5 separate regions of the Homo sapiens genome follow, and regions 1, 3, 4 and 5 are each linked to region 2. The links are contacts of gene promoters, found by promoter capture Hi-C in blood cells and fetal thymus (Javierre and others, 2016). All regions are on one chromosome and are shown on one strand. Each heading gives the region's core, a stretch centred on a gene start or on the middle of the fragment in contact. The rest is flanking DNA. Distances are from core to core; before and after follow the strand shown. Region 1 overlaps USP14 (ubiquitin specific peptidase 14). Region 2 holds the start of COLEC12 (collectin subfamily member 12). Region 3 overlaps USP14 (ubiquitin specific peptidase 14). Region 4 overlaps THOC1 (THO complex subunit 1). Region 5 has its middle 19 kb from the start of YES1.

What was found. The method cuts DNA at HindIII sites, captures the fragments that hold promoters and counts their contacts. A CHiCAGO score of 5 or more calls a contact.
Region 1: a fragment that was not itself captured here is called in contact with the fragment with the promoter of COLEC12 in region 2 in 4 of 17 cell types (M1 macrophages, M0 macrophages, neutrophils and 1 more); the score reaches 5.8 in M1 macrophages.
Region 3: a fragment that was not itself captured here is called in contact with the fragment with the promoter of COLEC12 in region 2 in 2 of 17 cell types (monocytes and M1 macrophages); the score reaches 5.7 in monocytes.
Region 4: a fragment that was not itself captured here is called in contact with the fragment with the promoter of COLEC12 in region 2 in 3 of 17 cell types (neutrophils, M1 macrophages and M2 macrophages); the score reaches 8.0 in neutrophils.
Region 5: a contact is called between a fragment that was not itself captured here and the fragment with the promoter of COLEC12 in region 2, in 2 of 17 cell types (M1 macrophages and monocytes). The highest score is 6.6, in M1 macrophages.

The regions. Positions count from the first base shown.
Region 1 is chr18:197,202-200,086 of GRCh38, forward strand. USP14 (ubiquitin specific peptidase 14) reads left to right here. Exons shown (of 16, transcript NM_005151.4): 8 at 415-495; 9 at 846-931; 10 at 2,001-2,115. Among named protein-coding and RNA genes, the nearest start is that of USP14, 40 kb to the left of the region's middle. The HindIII fragment of the contact is 1,836 bases long and covers 648-2,483 here.
Region 2 is chr18:499,363-502,062 of GRCh38, forward strand. It overlaps COLEC12 (collectin subfamily member 12), which reads right to left and starts at 1,339. Exons shown (of 10, transcript NM_130386.3): 1 at 1,146-1,339. The coding sequence starts at 1,152. The HindIII fragment of the contact is 13,067 bases long and covers 1-2,700 here.
Region 3 is chr18:165,307-168,006 of GRCh38, forward strand. It overlaps USP14 (ubiquitin specific peptidase 14), which reads left to right. Exons shown (of 16, transcript NM_005151.4): 3 at 1,481-1,513. Among named protein-coding and RNA genes, the nearest start is that of USP14, 8.1 kb to the left of the region's middle. The HindIII fragment of the contact is 966 bases long and covers 798-1,763 here.
Region 4 is chr18:225,854-228,553 of GRCh38, forward strand. THOC1 (THO complex subunit 1) reads right to left here. Exons shown (of 21, transcript NM_005131.3): 12 at 948-1,048. Among named protein-coding and RNA genes, the nearest start is that of THOC1, 41 kb to the right of the region's middle. The HindIII fragment of the contact is 4,135 bases long and covers 1-2,700 here.
Region 5 is chr18:829,420-832,119 of GRCh38, forward strand. No RefSeq gene overlaps it. Among named protein-coding and RNA genes, the nearest start is that of YES1, 19 kb to the left of the region's middle. RefSeq lists an enhancer at 905-1,471. The HindIII fragment of the contact is 297 bases long and covers 1,296-1,592 here.

The sequences.
Region 1 (2,885 bases), core at 316-2,815, 300 kb before region 2:
GCAAGACCAGCTCCCTCACCTCCTTCAGGTCTCATGGCTCCAAGGCCAAAGCCTTAGGCTTTCCCTGATGACCTTATTGGAACAGCACACTTCCCTTCCCCTGATCACTTACTGTTTCCATCCTGCTTTTTTTCGCTTCATAACCCTTATCTCTACTTGAATTTTATATATTCACTGCTATTATGCTGAGTATCTAGTACAGTGTTTAGCACAAATTGGAGCTCAGCAGATGTCTGTTGAATGAATAAGCTATTCTAGAATGCTTTATTTTTTGGAAGATCGTATGTCTTATTTGGCTTAATATTTTTAAAGAAGGAAACCACTTTCTTGCCTAGGAGACAGTGATTATTTTGGAAGAACTTTGTAGATCATTCACTGCCAGGATTACTTACTTTGTCTTTTTTTACATTACAGGATGCTAATGAATGTTGGATACAAATGATGCGAGTATTGCAACAGAAATTGGAAGCAATAGAGGATGATTCTGTTAAAGAGGTAATTGAAATATATTTGTGATTATAGACTTTCGTTATACCTTGATTTTTTTTTTTATTTTTTTTCCCCTCAAAGGCTTAAAATAAGTTCCATCTTATAGGTAGATGTGTATTTAAATACTTTAGATGCTCAATCTGTAGTCAGAATTTGGAAGCTTGCATACGACATTTAAATTTAATGTATTATTTATTAAACTTAATTCATTGTTGATTTTTGGTAATGTTTTTTGAAGGATTTTACTGTAAGGGACTACATTTTTAAAAAAATATGTATTACTAAACTGGATTGTGTGGAAGAAAATCTACATTAATATTTATATAAAGTTGGAATTTTTATTTTAATTTTTGCAGACAGACTCCTCATCTGCATCGGCAGCGACACCTTCTAAAAAGAAAAGTTTAATCGATCAGTTCTTCGGTGTTGAGTTTGAAACTACGTATCCTTATGAGCCAAGATATAGACTATACTCATACCTTATTAGAATTGGCATAAATAGCATCATTGGCTGATTGATTGGTGGTGGGTAGAAGAAAAATTCTTCAGAGGTTTTTTTTCTTTGAGACGGAGTTTCGCTCTTGTCGCCCAGGCTGGATTGCAATGGTGTGATCTTGACTCACTGCAACCTCCACCTCCTGGGTTCAAACAGTTCTGCCTCAGCCTCCCAAGTAGCTGGGATTACAGGTGCATGCCACCATACCCAGCTAATTTTTTGTATTTTTAGTAGAGATGGGGTTTCACCCTCTTGGTCAGGCTGGTATTGAACTCCTGACTTTAGTTGATCTACCCACCTTGGCCTCCAGGTGTGAGCCACCGCGCCCAGCCCAGAGGTTTTTATACCTAAAAAAATACAATAATGGAAATTAGGAATTTGGAAAAATATACCTATTGGAGTGATCTTGAAGGATAATGGGATTATTCATTATGTTTTGATTAATATAATTATTTTAAATTTATTTCTTGAAGGATATTTATTATTTTTTCCTAAGAACATCTTTAGCAGAGTCTACCTCATTTTCATTCACCTTATAAAGAATTAATTTCTTATATGTCAAGGTGACTGTTAATAATAACTTTTAAAATAAAAAAAGAATTTTTTAATTTTATAAAAGGGTGTGTATCAACTATACATGAGATTGAACCAGTTAATAAAACATGAATCAGGAAAGTACTGTCTTCTAGGTCATGGTTAGAAAAACTTAGAAACAATTTATGTACCTTTGGGCTTCTAAGACCATTATAAGACCATACTAAATACCAGCTTATAGTTTAGAGTTTATTGCAGTTTATCTTTTAATACACATTTATTACTCATTGTTGTTTCTAGAATTGTTGGTAGCCAAATGAACATTCTTAAGTATGTTGAAATGAATCTTGGGAGACTAAAAGGTTTTAAATGCCAATGAATGATACTATTAATTTTAATGGAATTAGGATAATGTATTATATTCAAGAGTATATAACAAATTGAATACCCGTTGGCATATTCCTTATCTTAGTTTACAAAGCATGAAATGTACAGAATCTGAAGAAGAAGAAGTCACCAAAGGAAAGGAAAATCAACTTCAGCTTAGCTGTTTTATCAATCAGGAAGTCAAGTATCTTTTTACAGGACTTAAATTGGTAAGGACAATCTCAGTCCATCCTTGTTGTTTGTGAATTCCATGTTTGCGAGTAAGCCAAAGTCATTATTCACTGGGCTTTAATGGTCATTTGTAGACATGTGCAGAGCAATACGCATTTTGAGTTGCCCGATACACACAGTCCCATCTGAGGTCAAACAAGTACTTGGCCTTCTTGTTTCAGCTTGGTAAACAAATACCATTTTAGCAGGAATGTTAGAACTGTTGTTTTAAAAAAAAATTTCTGCTTTTTGTTGGTTATTTCACTGTTTAAGATGACCCCCCAAGCACAGGGCTGAGTGCTGTCTAGTGTTTCTAGGTGTGGGAAGGCTGTGATGTGCCTTACTGAGAAAATATACTTGTTAGAGAAGCTTCAGTTGGGCCTGCGTTGCACTGTTGGCTCTGAGTTCAATGTTAATTAATCAACACAATATGTGAAATAAGGTGTCCTTAAACAGAAACACACATAAAACAAGGTTATGTATTGATTGGTTGATGAAAATGTTGTGATCAAAGGCTGGCGGGAATCTAATCCTGTATTTCCCCTAGGAGCAGTGGTTCAGTATTCATTGATTCAGTGCTTGTGGTGACTTTGTAGAACATAATTACCGTGACTAACAAAATCAACTGTATAGTCAGAAATCAAACAAACTTCAACTAGCTCTTCATTTCATAGACAAAAGCATTATTGACATGGTTGCATATGCTAACAAATATTGGGACATCTCACTTTTTAATCACTGGGTGTTCCTGCTTCACACTGTGAAGAAG
Region 2 (2,700 bases), core at 89-2,588:
TTGGTAGGATATCATCGCTCCGGTTAGTTCCGCGGGAGCTGCCCTTCAGAAAAAAAACTTTCCAGAGCCAAAAGTTACTTTCCAAGCGCCTTGGGGCTTCCCGGGCGCCTCCCTCGGACGGCAACCCTAGAAGTCAAAGCGATTGCATCGCCAGGTCTGTGGCGGCTGGAAGCGGGGTGACCGCGGTCAGATGGCATTTCGCACCCACGCAGGGCTGTGTTATCCTAGCACAGAACCAGCAACTCTCACACGAAGCCTTGTGTAAACACCACGCGGGCCCATTCCTGAACGACTCTTTGATGCCTCCGCTGCGGTTACTTATCTCATACATAAATCAGGATTCCGCTGACAAATCTCCGTGTTTCCACTAAACAGAAGGCTGCCCTGCAGTCCTTCTCGTGCTTCTTTCTAAAGTACGATAACATCTGACACTTCCATAAACCGGCCTGCAGAGGACACCGCGCAGGGGGCGACTAACCAGCTGAGGTGTGTCACCCCAAAACACCAGTGGGCACACCCCAAGGCGGGCACGTGGAAGGGACGCGGAACCGAGGGCAACTATTTTCCAGTCGGTGAATCTGATGGAGAAAGATGCCAAATGCACTTCCCGAGCCAGCTGAACTCCTCGGGCACCTAATCATTGCCAGATGTGGCGAGGGCGCACGGAGAACATCCCCAGTCCCGGAGAAAACACCCGGCCGCCAGCGCGGGGACCGCTCGGGCCGGGAAACGGCTAGAGGCGGGAGGAGAGAGGACTGGGCGAGCGTGGGGAGCGCTGCGGCGTGGAAAAGCGACCGGGAGGGATGGCGATGCCTCCACTCTCCTCGGCAGGTTTTTTCAATTAAAAAGTTGGAAACGGGAATCCGTAAACAACGACTTAGGGCTTCAAACTACTTGCAAAGACGCGATGGGGAGGGGAATACTTGCGCGCTTCAAAACCCCAACCTCGAGGTCTCCAGCCGCGCCTGACCCGGGAGCCGGGTGCGCCCCCAGTGTCCGCGCACGAACCCGGCGCCCTGGCAGCCCCGACTCCCCGGGCCCGCAGCCCAAGGGAAGGTTCGCGCGGGAGGCACCTCCGTGGCCTCCCGCGCGCCCCGAAGCCCGTTCCCCCCGCCCAGAGCCCCGCGGAGCTGCCGCCGCCCTACCTTTCATGGTGACCGTGGGGACGCACCGCCGGCCGGGGAGCTCCGCGCGAGCGCCGCGCAGCCGAGGAAGTCGTCCCGAGCGGCTGCTCACCGCACGCCCATGGTAGCCGCGCCGCGCGCCGGCCGTCTGCGCCCCCGTCCTCCCTCGCCGCCGCCGGCCCGCGCTCCCCGCGCTCCCGGCTCCGCGCTCTGCTGCCTCGGGGCTGCCGCGCGCGCCGCTCTCGCTCTCCCAGCGCCCCTCCCCCTGGCCCGACCCGGCCGAGCGAGCGGCCGCGCCCACGCCCCTCTCGCGCCCTCCCGCGCCCGCCCCGCCCTCGGCCCGCGCCTGCCCTCGCCGGGCACTTTCTCGCCCGCCCTCTCCTGCGCGCCCTGGCCCCACTCGCGCGGGCTCTCTCTTTTTCCCGTTGCACCAGCGTCGGGATGAAGTCGGGAGCAAAGCCCTTCCCGGGGCGGTCCAGCGTTCACCTTCGGCGAGCACCTAAGGTGCCGCTGCTGCTGGGGTCGCTTCTACACCCCAAACTACCTAGCAAGTGTTGGGCGAGAGGATGGGGAGCTGCTGTGCCCCGGGGGTGGCGGGGGGTAAGGTGGGCCCTTCCCCAAACGGCTCTGGGGCATGGAGAGGTACAGAACGTCCTCCGGGTTCAGAGTTTCCAAGTGCGTGCGCTGGTTGACGCCTGAAGGAGACCAAGCAGCAGGGAACACTCTCTCTGTCACCCAGGGAGAGCCCGAGTGGCCAGAATCCGAAGTCACCATTAGACACTCTCTCTGCGCTCTTGGACACCTCCAGAGAAAAAGCCAGCACATCCTGCCTTGGCTGGAAAAGCCAGCCTTCCACCCAGCGCCCCTAAAATGATCGGGTTGACTCCAGTTTTGTTACGAAAGGAGGCCGGGCTGCTGAGAGGCTCCCTGAGTTCCCTTCGTGGTCGCCCGTCACATTGCCCTGCTGTATACTTAATAAAGCCCGTGTTTATCTTTCTCTTTAGAACCCCCTCTAAGCAGACCCATCGCTTTATTGCTTTAAAACATACACTAAGTGGTGAGTGGAGCTGGGGCGAGGGAGGTGCGGAGAAACTTTCTGCCACATGTTGACATTACAGATGGCTACTCAGACGCACTAGTCCACCAAAAGCAATCGAACACTGGCCGGGCAGTGCTTGCAGCTTTTCAGTTTGCCCTCCTGAGGACTTGGTAACACGGTGTAACCAATCCATTGGTTCCCTCTAAGTAGGGGATTCTTTGCTCTAGTAAAAGGTAGTGCCCCAAAATGAATACATATTGAAACATTTCATAGATTCTCCGTTCCAGGAGATTTCTTTTTTCTTTCTTTTTTTTTTTTTTTAATTTTTTAACATAAGGGGGCACCTTGAACATGACGAACAAATGAAAAGACCGAAATGCTTTTTCCCCCGCACTGTCTGCAGTTGATGAAACTACAGGGTCCTGGTCCTGGAGCATGTTTCAGATCTCACTGGGGCACCAGCCTTGTCTTTCAGGGCAAATGGGGATCCCTGAAGGGAGCTTAGGATATGAATTTTCAGCCCGGAGTTTACTAACC
Region 3 (2,700 bases), core at 31-2,530, 330 kb before region 2:
AAATGCTAAAGATCTATAGTTAACTTTAGAGATAAAGACAGGCTACCCCCACTGGGCAGTAAAACACACGTTGGAGGAAAATCTTTGTTTACCCCCGAAGGTACAGTATGAACCTTTGGCCTTTAGTGAACTTCATAGCCTAATCTATGCTGAACACTGTACTAGTGGTATGCTGTCGAGAATTATAGAAGTATGCGAATTAAATGAAACTGTGACTGCTAATGGTTACCATTTATTGAGTACTTATTTTATGTCAGGCTTTTATTATATTTTCTTTAATTCTCAGCTGTATGTTATCCATATCTTATATATGAGGAAATTTTATAAATGAGTGTCAAAGAGGTTTAAGTAACATAGTAAGGCACCAAAAGAGCATATGATTTATACATCAAGCAGATCTGTGTTCACTTCCCAGTTTTGTGTGACCTTGGGTAAGTGATCTTAGGGGGCATTTATAGTTATCATTCATTATGTTTAGCAGTCATAGACCTTAAATTGAGAAGGGCCTTTAGGAAGTTACCGTTCCATTTTAAAGCAGATAAAAGAGATAATTAGTGGCACCAATGAAGGGTAGACAAGCATATTGGGTACCCGATACCTTCTATAAAAGGGAGTAATATAGAATCGACTTTATCCTATGAGGGGAAAGGCCTAGCTGTAGTTAGTAAAAATATTACTCTGGACTAATCATGCATTTAAAAAAAAAATTCTTGATTTTTATTCAACATATTGAAAGGAAAGTATATACTTGCTTTATAGATGCGTTATAGACATTAACTCTTCATTCTTGCCACGTAAGCTTGTTATTTATTAGCTCTGCTGGTTCCAAACATCCAAAAAATAGGATCTATCATTTGTCATTAGTCAAGTGTTTTTTAGTACTTGCTAAAAGTATTTTTTTATACTTATGTGTTTTTTAGTATTTGATGCTGTAAATACAGGTTACTGCCTTTTGTATTGTGTTACCTTATGCAGTTGAAGCAAATTATTTGAAACCCTGGCTTTAGTACCACTTGTGTTTAAAAAAAATTTTTGTTTTTTTTTGAGATGGAGCCTTGTTCTGTTGCCCAGGCTGGAGTGCAGTGGTGAGATCTCGGCTCACTGTAACCTCTGCCTCCTGGGTTCAAGCAATTATCTTGTCTCAGCCTCCCGAGTAGCTGGAATTACAGGTGTGCACCACCATGCTCAGCTACTTTTTGTATTTTTAGTAGAGATGGAGTTTCTTTATATTGGTCCGGCTGGTTTCGAACTCCTGACCGCAGGTGATTTGCCTGCCTCAGCCTCCCAAAGTGCTGGGATTACAGGCGTGAGCCACTGTGCCTGGCCAAAAAAAATTTTTTTAATTGCCATAATTTTAAATAAAATCTGCATATAGGATAAATTTTATTCTGTTTTGAAGTACATTAAAATAAATTGATTATTAGATTGTGTTCAGCTTGTACAGTGGTGGTTAAATGTCTTTTGTTTGTCTTTGAAACAGGATGATGATTGGGGAAACATCAAAATAAAAAATGTAAGTATTATCTTATGAACGTTTATTATAATGCAGTAACCTCATTATGATACCAAAATACATTCCAGATGACTTTTTTTCATGTGTATATCCAGTTGTTCCAGCACTATCTGTTGAAAATACTTACCTTTTCCCATTGACTTGTGTTGGGCTCTTTCTTGAAAAGTAGTTATAGGTTTGTTTTTGGGTTTTTGTTTCATTGATCTAGTAGATTAAAGTTACACTAGTACCAAATGGTTTTGATTACTAAAGCTTTATAATAAAAGCCTTGAAAAAAAAATTAGCTGGGTGTGGTGGTGCACGCCTGTAATCCTAGCTACTCGGGAGGCTGAGGTGGGAGGCTGAGGCGGGAGGCAGAGGCAGGAGGCAGGAGAATCACTTGAACCTGGGAGGCGGAGATTGCAGTGAGCCGAGATCGTGCCACTGCACTCCAGCCTGGCAACAGAGCGAGACTCCGTCTCCAAAAAAAGAGTCTTGAAATAAGATAGTATATGTTCTTATGCTCTCCAACTTTCTCCTCTTTGAGATTTTGTTTGAGATTACATTGAATCTGTAGCTCAATTTGGGGAGAATAAACATCTTAACAATATTGAGTATTAAAATCCCTGAATATGATGTACTTCCTTATTTATTTAGGTCTCTGTTTTTCTCTTAGCAGAGTTGTAGTTTTTAAACATAGAGGTTTTGCATGAGTGGTTTTTTTTTTGAGACAGGGTCTCACTCTCACGTATGCCGGAGCACAGTGGCATGGTCATGGCTCGCTGCAGCTTTAAACTCCCAGCCTCAAGCAGTCCTTCCATCTCAGCCTTCCAAGTAGCTGGGACCACAGGCGGGTGTTACCATGCCCAGTTAATTAATTAATTTTAATTATTTTTTGTAGAGATGGGGGTGTCACTATGTTGCCCAGGCTGGTCTTGAACTCCAGGGCTCAAGCGATCCTCCTGCCTTGGCCTCCCAAAGTGCTGGGATTAACAGGTGTGAGTCACTGTGCCCAGCCCTTGCATGACTTCTCTTAAATTATTGGAACTTAACATTTGTTCGCTGCTTAAAATAATATTAAAAAATATTTCCAGTGTTCATGGCTAGAATGTAAAAATACAATTGATTTTTCTCTCTTTTTTTTTTTTTTTTTTTTGAGACAGAGTCTCACTCTTATTGCCCAGGCTAGAGTGCAATGGCGCGATCTC
Region 4 (2,700 bases), core at 127-2,626, 270 kb before region 2:
TGAGCTCTCATAATGCACTAGGTGATTTAAAGACATCCAATAAATATTGATGGCTAGGATCTGAACACTTTACATACATTATTCATTGAATTCTCGGAACAAGTACATGTACATATTAAACAGAGACTACCGTGTCTCACTGATTTGCCCAAGGCCATAAAGATTTAATTCAAACCCACGTCTCACTTCAAAGTCCCTCATCTTCCTACTATGCTATACCAAACCTCCAAAATAGATAGAAGGATAAGAAATAACATTTTTTGAGTGTTTACCATGTGCTACTACCTTAAAATTACAAGTCTGAAAGAGCTGCACTGCAGCCAGCAAATGACGAGCCTGGGATTCAAACCCAGCAGGTAGTGAAGTCATTATACAACTAATACGGCATTGCTCAGTGTCCTTAACACAAATACCGTTAAGTAACAGTGGGCTCCACCTTCAGTTATGGACAGGATAGGAGGAAATGGATGGAAGTATTTAGATAGACAGTAGAGAGCCTAATGAGGTTTTGTGAAACCCCAAATAAATGAACTCCTTTTTGCTTAAAAATTTTCTTTGCATCTTTTAGCTTGAATGTCCTGCAGAGCTCCACACCTTGTGAGATATGTATTACTGGCTTAGTCTGCAAATCAGCTTTGGAGGAGGTCTGAGGGAGGTGAGAAGGGAATGACGGAATTTTGGAGCAGAGACCTCCACCTGCTAATAAAGACGACAACTCCTGGCAAGCCCTGGAGTTGGGCAGGAAAAACTCACACTGACAGATATATTTAACATCTTTTCCTTAAATATCCTAATATCGAAAAGCCTTCAATGTATCAGCTGCAATACATGTGTTTTAGGGATACAGCCTTAACATGAAATGGACACATACATAAGAAAAATCGTAAGCAAGTCCTTTTTTTTCTTGGCTACTGTTTACAAATTGTTTACTACCCATATTATCTTACCTTTTGAATTTGACCTGCCCCTTGAGATATTGGAATAAAATGAGATACTGCAACAGGATGTGTCGACGAAAGTTACTGTCACTCAGTTGTAAATCCATCAGCTACTCAAGAAACAAGCAAACACATACGAAAACAACACATTAAAATCAAGTTTTTCCTAAAGGTACAAAATGTGCTAATATAGAAATGGAAGATTCCAATTCAATTTAAAAGCCATTTGTTGAGAGTTCACTGCATGTGAGGCATTACCGCACAAGCCCAAAGACAGCCCAGTCAAGGTTTCACTTAGATTTCTTGACTGTTTTATGCCATGACACATTCTTGCTGGTGGATAACAATGATCTATCTATGGTCCAGACATGAGGATAAAATAAAGCAGAAATAGAAAAAAGTAAGCTGGGCATGGTGGCACAAAGCCTATTATAGTCCCAGCTACTCAGGAAGCTGAGAAGGAGGATCACTTGAGCTCAGGAGTTCGAGATCAGTCTGAGCAACATAGCAAGACTCTAAATTTAAAAAAAAAATTTTTTTTTAAAGTAAAACTGAGGCTACTACTTTCTCACATATGAAGAAATAATGGCTAAAGAAGATACGGATAACAGCACAATATCAACGGGGACCACTCATTTTTGTAGCCCTATAAAGTGCCTGCAACAGAGGTATTACTTGACAATAAACAAGAAATTAGAGGTGAAGATCATCTCTGATTAGATGGGCTTTTTTTTTTAGCTTTTAGTGAAAATTGCATCATACTTGTATTATCACAGAATCTGGATTAGAAAGGACTTGAAGGTCACTCATGAGGAAGTTCTTCAACGACCCTGCCATCCAGCTGTAAGAATAACCTGCGGCGATGAAGGAAGGTCATTCTGATTATGTGCATGGAACACTGAAGGAAGGCTGAAGTCTGTATCCACAAACTCATGCTAGTTCTGCCTTCAAAAACTACAGTAACAAAGGAAAGCCACGTTCTTCTAAATGAATCGCCAGTAAGGCAGCTGGAAGCGTCGAAGATTGGTTTTGGTTCAATGTCCCAAGTGCTGGTGGCTCTGCTTTACGTGGTTGGTACCATTTACTAATGCTACCTAACACGCACAAGCCTCCCTATTCACTAGCAACCCCTTCCACACTGTGGCTCCAGGTCTTAAAAAAAAAAATTAATGATCAGCCTTCCAGTCAGGTTTCCCTCACGTTTAAGGATTGAATATATTTGATTGTTATTTATATTAACTCTCCTATCCCAAATTGGAAATGTGAATGGCCGGCCATCAGCCTTCCCTTCCTCCAGCCCCTGGGCAACTTGACTGTCTCCACTCAGGCTGTTAGTTCCTTGCCCTTAACTCCACGGACAGGCCCATCTCTGCTCCAGCTACCCACTACTGTGGCCACAGCTAGACCTGGGGTCACTCACAGCTGCCCCAGATCTGAAGTCTTCAACTCACAATCCTATCTCACCACAACCTCTATCCTTCCCAGGTCTCTCGCTCAGTTGCTTCCAATATACCTAATATTTGGATCTTACCGAGACTTTAAGGCCCTTGACCCGTCTATTCTCTGCCTGTTAGTCCCATCCCATTTTATTATAATCCTATTTTAGTCTAGATAAGGGGTCAGCAAACTTTTTCCTGAAGTGTCAAATAGTAAGTATTTTTATTAATAGGTTATGTGGGCTAAGAGACATATTATGGATATTATGTAGGTATTTAAACATCTAAAATGTAAGGGGGAAAAAAAAACCAAAATCACCAAAAAC
Region 5 (2,700 bases), core at 194-2,693, 330 kb after region 2:
AATCAATAAAATATACAGTATGTTTGCATCATGACATATTTAGATTTCAGTGGCACAAATATAATATTACGTTATGCCAAATAATACTTTATATTTTTCAAATTATTTTATTATCACATTTGATCCGTATAACAATCTTAAAAGATGAATAGGTAGATGTCACTACCCCCATTTTACAGGCGAGGAAACTGAGGAATGAGAAATGCAAACCAGTATGCCAGTCACCAAGTGTCAGATTAATTACTGAGCTAGAGGCCAAACGAGGTGGCTCAAGCCTGTACTTGCAGCACTTTGGGAGGCCGAGGCAGGCGGACTGCTTGAGCTCAAGAGTTTGAGACCAGCTTGGGCAAGAAAAAGAATTAGCAGGGTGTGGTGGTACATGACTGTAGTCCCAGCTGCTTGGGAGGCTGAGGTGAGAGGCTCGCGTGAGCCCGAGAGGTTGAAGCTGCAGTGAGCTGTGATTCTACCACTGCACTCCAGCCTGGGTGACAGAGCAAGACCCTGTCTCAAGGTGATGAAATGATTAGAATTATCCCAAATCTACTATCCCGAATGGTATAGTTATTTTGTATCATTGTATAATTTTCTCCTGCTACTCATTCCTTCAGGTTCTAAGGGAGAGTAAGTTCTAGTTGGTTTCCAAAAGCCCCAACTTAAATGGCTTCCTGGCAATTTTGATCTTAAAGATTGTCTTTTTTTAAGCTGGCCAGAGCAGCTGGCATAAAGAGAGAAAAAAAAGATTATGTCTTTTCTTCTTCTCTCTCTCTCTCTCTCCTCTAGTACCTAGAACACATGCAGAAGGTGCTTAGTATACTCGTGAGCAATGAATACATAAATAAAATGAGTTTAGAAGAGACCTGGGAAAGTCTGGGTAGTGGAATGGGAATACTCTTCTTTGTTAGAAGATAATAGATACCTCAGCACTGGGACATCAGCAGTGATAATCCTGCGTCACAGTTGGTGAGAAGCAGCGGGAAATCAGGGGGAAAGGAGGTAGAGGCAGGCACAGTGGCAGCCCAAGGAAATGAAGGCAAACTGTGGTCATGAGACCAAAGACAAGGGGAGCTGGGGAAGGGAATGATGTCATCAGAACAACAATAGAGGAAGATGGTTTTGGCAGCAGCTTTTGAATAGACTTTGAAGAAAAAAATCAGAGAGAGGGGAAAAAGGAAACGGGAAACGGAAGTCTGTTGAGAACTCAGCATGACATTTGGAGTGGGTGGAGAGCTTCCTGTATAGCTTGATGTTTGGAACATCTGGTCACCTCTTACAATAACAAAACCTTAGAAATTTCAAGCTTTCTCAAGTGGCCAGCTTAGAATGAGTGTGAATTCCATGGCCAAACCGTCATTGCCAGAAGACAGGAATATCTAAAGAAAGAAAAATTCAGACAGAAACTGACTCTTAACACTGAGAACACCCCCACTAGTTTTTTGATGTAAGTAGTCCTATTTGTCAATGTATCTATGCTTTATTTTTGGAATACAGTATTGGCTTGGTATTAAATTTAAAGTGTTAAGTCTACTTTAATTCAATTATCTCAAAGGGCTAAGGTTAATCAACAGATTTACAAAGAAAGCAATTGTTTTCAAAGCTTATGATTTTCACTACCCATTTTTCTGGTGTATTAATTTTTGCTAGAGTCCATACCTTGTTTCATTTGCAATATTGGCTGAAATTTTCCACAACTCAATTGTGCCCTCTAGTGTTTATTAGCATTTAGTGACGGCCACTTTGGATGTTTGTTTGTTTGTTTGTTTGAGACACAGTCTCGCTCTGTTGCCCAGGCTGGAGTGCAGTAGCATGATCTCGGCTCACTGCAACCCCCATCTCTCAGGTTCAAGCGATTCTCCTGCCTCAGCCTCCCAAGTAGGTGGGATTACAGGTGCCCGCCACCATGCCCAGCTAATTTTTGTATTTTTAGTAGAGATGGGGTTTCACTGTGTTGGTCAGGCTGGTCTCGAACTCCTGACCTCGTGATCTGCCTGCCTCAGCCTCTCAAAGTGCTGGGATTACAGGCATAAGCCACTGCGCCCAGCCCAATCCCAGGTCTTCAGACAAGGTAAACTCATTGTCAACCAGAAAATGTTTAAATTCACCTATAGCCTGGAAGCCCCAGCTTTGAGCTGTCCCACCTTTCTGGACCAATCCCATGTATTTATTAAATGTATTTGATTGATGTCTCATGCCCCTCTAAAATGTATAAAACCAAGCTGCACCCCGACCACCTTGGGCACATGTTCTCAGGACCTCCTGAGGGCTGTCTCATGGGCCATGGTCACTCATATTTGGCTCAGAATAAAACTCTTCACATATTTTAGAAAGTTTGACTCTTTCTGTCGACAATAGGGAGGTGCTGTAGGATGTTAGGCACATTATTACCAGCTTCGCCATGTTTTTGAAAGTTTTTATTATAATTCTATTGCTAATAGTGTGGTTAACCTCCATATAATAATACAGTAGTCCCTCCTTGTCTGTGAAGAATACATTCTGAGATCCCCAGTGGATGCCTGAAATCGCTACAGTACCAAACTCTATAGATACTGCGGTTTTTTGTAGATATAGACACACACATATCCCTATGATAAAAGTTAATTTATAAATGAGGCACAGAAGAGATCAACAACAATAACTAGTGATAAATCGAACAATTTTAACAATATGCCAGCATCCCTACCCTTGTGCTTTGATGCCATCATT